Regions from separate parts of the Homo sapiens genome. Here region 2 is linked to region 1. The links are contacts of gene promoters, found by promoter capture Hi-C in human tissues and cell types (Jung and others, 2019). All regions are on one chromosome and are shown on one strand. Each heading gives the region's core, a stretch centred on a gene start or on the middle of the fragment in contact. The rest is flanking DNA. Distances are from core to core; before and after follow the strand shown.

Evidence for each region. Contacts are between HindIII fragments. The study calls those that stand out against the background at their distance.
Region 2: a fragment that was not itself captured here is called in contact with the fragment with the promoter of LUZP2 in region 1 in 1 of the 25 tissues and cell types used here (mesenchymal stem cells).

Annotation. Positions count from the first base shown.
Region 1 is chr11:24,495,742-24,498,441 of GRCh38, forward strand. LUZP2 (leucine zipper protein 2) reads left to right here and starts at 1,312. Exons shown (of 12, transcript NM_001009909.4): 1 at 1,312-1,564. The coding sequence starts at 1,503. The HindIII fragment of the contact is 10,753 bases long and covers 1-2,700 here.
Region 2 is chr11:25,970,972-25,973,671 of GRCh38, forward strand. No RefSeq gene overlaps it. Among named protein-coding and RNA genes, the nearest start is that of ANO3-AS1, 320 kb to the right of the region's middle. The HindIII fragment of the contact is 3,641 bases long and covers 1-2,700 here.

The sequences.
Region 1 (2,700 bases), core at 62-2,561:
CAAACACTGGGCTAGGAGTGCTAGTTGTGATGTTTGAGGCAACAGTGGAATTTTTCTTAGGACTTAGTAGAACCAGTTCTTTTTTTTAATATGCATAGTCAGATTTTGATGATATTCAGTCTGCTCATATCTATAATAGTGATATTAACGTCTATTTCACTAGGATGGCTCTTGTGAAGATTAAATTAAATACTGTATGAAGAAGTGCCTTATACACAGTTATATAACCAGGATAATATCCAGATGGAATTCTCATTCTCTCTCTCTCTCTCTCTCTCACTCTCACTCACACACACACACACACACACACACACACACACACACATGCAATATCATCTTATAAATATCCTAGAATTGAATATCTCAGTAGCAGAGATAGTAGTTCTGTTTCTCAGAATTGCTTTTGCAAAATGGTGTTTTGGATTATAATTGTGCTATTTAATTTTTCTAATTAAAATTTCTAAATAGAGCCTATTAAATATTGGATGCTTATGATAGAACATTTGAAAATATAGAAAACCAAATGACCTACAAAACCTCTACCTTCCAGTACCATCATTCCGAGCTGATTACTGTTAACATTTTAATGGTTTTTGTCCGCTAGGTCTCCTTGATGAGTTTCACCTGAGGAAAAGGACTCCTTCAGGTGTGTGAACTTGAGCCACCAGGTCCAACCCCATTGGCAGGTGCTGGTACAGACGACTGAAATCAGAGGAAGATCAGAAATCTTCAAAACCCAGAGCAGCAGATGTCTTAACGGTCCCGAAACGTTCTTTGGTTCTTTGCAGTCAACATTCACGGGTTAAGAAGATTGCAATGCCATGACGGGCTGAGGTTGCATTTCTGGACGCTGCTTACTCCCGCTTCCTTCCATCTGTTTCAGGCAAATCATTATGCAGTTCTAATTAGAACAATCTTCTAAACACTCTCTCCAGAGCGACGTTCTTCCAAACACGGTTTAAGCGGCGAGAGACACCTGCCTAGGACCCTACGCGTCTGGAAGTCTCTCCCAGTGAATTGGGTCTCATCTCCTGCCGAGTACGCAAGTTCAATTATCGGCAGATTAGGTTTCTACTCTCCGTGCCCCGCCCCGCGCCATCCTGGGGAGCAGCGGGAATAAATGATCCGCCCCTGGCCAGTGCTCACCCGACTGACCAGAGCGCAGCCCGGTGACCGAAGCGCACGGGGCGATCGCGAGGCGCCCCCTCCCTCTCCCCGCGCCGCCTCCAGCGCGAGTGACGGCGCGCCCTCCGGGCTCCGGAGCGGCGGCGCCGAACAATCCCCGGCAGGGCTCGCCTCGCCGGTGACATCACTCCTGAAGATACTCCTCGCTCCCAGCGCCTGCCTTCCCCAGGCGTCCGTTCGTGTGCCCGTCTCCGCCTTTCCGCCTCGGAAGAGCGCTCATCACTGGCTGGGGACAGAGCCGGGCACCAAGGAGCGACAGGATCCCGAAGAGAGAGAGAGAAGGCAGCGAGGGAAGGAGGACCCCGGCAGGCAGCAGCATGAAATTCAGCCCAGCGCACTACCTGCTGCCTCTCCTGCCTGCGCTGGTCCTCAGCACCAGGTGAGTCCAGGAGCGTGAGTGACCTGAGGCCAGGGGCGCTGCCGGGGCGAGGTTGGTCCTACTGTGGGTCACCAGTGGGGGCCAAGGCACTTCAGCTGTTTGCATCTCCCGCCTAAGCAAGAGGGACGCTGTATGGTTTGGGCTCTGAAATCCTTCTGAGAGAGCAGAGCCCTTTCCTAGTTATCCCAGCCCCCTGGAGAAAGTCTTAGGATTGCTCTCAGTGAGGGATCAAAAGCTTTCTCTTCCGAAGGAGAGAAAAGACATTTTACCCTCCGGTCCTATTAGTAGCCAAAAGGTAACACGCGGTAAAAGAACAAAATAAAGAACGGAAATAGGCAAGGAGGGAATTGCCACCAGGCAGTGTCTTTACATTGGAGTTGTCTTAATAACCATAGAGCTTCTCCCTTCCCCCAAGTGTGCCTGATTTAAGGAAGAGGAAACCAGAGAAAACAGATTAATCCTGGAAGATGCTAAGACTTGTACAAAAGTTCCTGGACTCCTGAAATGGCATGTTTCAACGTCTTGGATAAGCTTAGTGATAGGCGTTTTCTTTTGACTGTCTTGTGAACAGGTCTAATTAAAGAGCACAGAAGGCGATTAAAAGTTAGAAGACACTCTCAGAGTGCTGATGCAGAGACCCTAGTCAGAAACAATTAAGTACTGTACTCCATCACTGGCCATGGATGGGACTTTAAGCCCCATTACAGAGGAGCTATTTTTGGTGGAGATTTAAAATGCAGAGATTGAGAAGAGTTTTGTGACTCCCCACTGTTGATCAAGTCCCAAAGTTGTGATGGGTTTGCTTTTTTCTTCCACAAGCGCAGCACAAAGGTGGACTGTTTAGTTGCCCAGGACTGTCTTTATTCTGCATGCCCTTAGCATCATATTGGCAGCAACCTCTTTCCCTTGGCTACTATAAAATAAAATAACCCACACAGGATGAAGATCCTTTCAAGTCTACGTGAATAGAAACATTATTTGATTGTGCATCTGATGGCAAATAAAGTAGGGATATAGGGTTGTTTCTAATTCTGAAATGGAAAAGGATGAAGAAAACTTACTCTGTCTTACAAATCAAGGCTGTAAAATTCTTGATTCCGTTCCTAATCTACACACCTTCTTTCAGGCCTGTGTAA
Region 2 (2,700 bases), core at 160-2,659, 1.5 Mb after region 1:
GATCGAATCAGGCAGGGATGAACACGGCATTACAGGCATCCAGAAATAGTAGAAGTCAGTGAGCATCACTGTTATTTCAGCTGATTTTTAAACTCAGGAAGAGATAGAAAATAAAGGAGAGGATATTCTATTTTCCCTAAGGAAGAGGACTAAAAATGTGTTAGATAAGTTTTCTCAAGTGCTCAGGGAAGCAAATGGATGTTGAATAATGAACCCAACCCCTAATAATAAACTTAAATACTAATCTATAAAAATAAGGACATATCTGGCACTACAGATGATCAAAATTATGGGGAGAAAGCAGGTAAGGAATCCTGCCCCTTGTGGCTAAATAGGCATACAGTGAAACTCCCAGTTAGGTAGATCTTTTGGTATCAAAGCCCCCAGGTGGAGGGGAGGAGGATCATGATATACATTCTACATTTATCATGTTTGATTCAGAAAGAAAATGGCTCAGTGTATAAAAGTTATACCCAGTGGTAAACTTAGCCATGAGATACTTGAACAAAGTGAGAGACAGAGAGAGACAAATTCCTTGTCAATGTCTGGACCAAGAGTATAGGATCAAAAATTAGTTGGGTAGTTATAGATAACTTGAGTACAATAATGTATCATTATTCATGAGAGAACATTTTGTTTTTAGGTTTTGTTTTTTGTTTGTATATTTTGTATTAAATATGTATATAAAACATATTATATTAAATGTATATAAAACATGCAGATATGTTCACATGTCCTAATGCAGAATAAATGGCCAGTACTTCCAAGTTCACTTTTCTCATATATAAAATAAGTCTAACTGTAAAGGGAATATCTAAGTACTTACTATGATGGGGGCTAAAATTCACAGCATACATGTGGCCATTGGTAAAATGAGAGAATATGAATTTCGTAAGAAAAGTCATAGCTGTCATGACAATAAATATGATCCCTTCATAGAATACCTTTAAGGATAGGGTAAACTCATTGAAAAATATAAAGTCATTTATGTGTACACAGAAGTGGACCATGGTAGAACCATTTCCTCCTTCATTCACTTAGCTTTTTAATTAGTTTTTATTTTTTTGCTCATCATATATTTATCATTTTGTACTCTGTTTCCTGATAAACACTGAAGGCACTAAAATAATGAAGACATTTTTCCCTCAAAGAGTTTGTGGTTCCAAATGAACTCATCAACTATAATGTATTTAATGTATTATAGCATCATTGTTAAATCTCAGAAGTGTCAACAACCCTAATATTGGTGTAAAATAGAGAGATAGGTTCCACTGATATACTATTACTACCAGCAAATGAGCAGATGAACTTAATTGTTTGGTTGGGCTTGTAAACCAAAAAGAATCTGAGACAAGTGCCAATCAATTTAGAAGCTTATTTTGCCAAAGTTACAGACATGCCCATGGCACAACCTCAGAAAGTCCTGACAACATGTGCCCAAGGTGGTCAGGCTACAGCCTGGATTTATGACATCAATCAACATATGTAAAATGTTTGGTCCAGAAAGGCAGGATGGGGGTGGGGGAAGCAGGGGAGGCTCTTCGGGTCATAGGTAGATTCAATGATATTTTCTGATTGGCAATTGGTTGAAAGAGTTTATCTAAAGATACAGGGATGTGGAGACCACAGTTCTCATTATACAGATGAAGTCTCCAGGTAGTAAGCTTCAGAGAGAATAGATAATAAACATTTCTTATCAGACTTAAAGAGTCTGTTCTGTCGGTCCTAAGGTCTCTGTTTGAATGTTAATTTTGGTCAGCTGTGCCTGAATTCCAATGGGAGGAAGGTTTAATGAGGCATGTCTGACCACCCATTTCCATCATTGCCTAAACTCGTATTTCAGGTTTACTTTAGAATGCCCTTGGCCAAGAAGAGGGATCTATTCAGTTGGTTGAAGGACTTAGAATTATTATTATTATTATTATTATTATTATTATTATTATTTTGGTTTACAGGATGATGCTCTCAAGCTTCTATTGTGTTGAAACTGCCATTGCAAAATTATAACCGACTTAGAAAGATCTGGCTTAACCAGCTCCATCTTGCATTAAACCCTCAAGCTGTGCTTGTTTATTCCTGGGCTTAGGCCTAACTAACTTTAAGAGGAAATTAGTTTATAATTTAGCTTTGAAACAAAAATGATAACCGCCCTTTTCCAAAACAAATCTCCTTCCTGCCTGGGGCCTAGACTGCCTTTGCAGGACTAACAAATTAGCCACAAGATTAGAATTTATGGTTTAGGAGTCATGCAGCTGGAGGGTGCAAGATTTTAAATCTCCCCAAATTGCTTCTGGGGGATAACATTACTATGGTAAAACCTAAGATTAGTGTTTGAGATATTTTGCAGACCCTGCACTCAGTAGATGAGCTGGCATCACTCAGATCAATAACCTGGCTCATCTGTTCTTGGGGTTCCGACCCAGGAACTGACTCAGCACAAGAGGACAGTTTCAACTTCCTATGATTTCACCTCTGACCCAGCGAATCAGCACTCCCAACTCAATGGCCCCTTACCTACCAAATTATCCTTAAAATCTCTGACTCCTGATTTTTCACGGAGACTGATTTGAGTAATACTAAAACTCCAGTCTCCCACATAGCTAGCTTTGTGTGAATTACTCTTTCTCTATTGCAATTCCCCTGTCTTGATAAATCAGCTCTGTCTAGGCAGTGGGCAAGATGAACCCGTTGGGCAGTTAC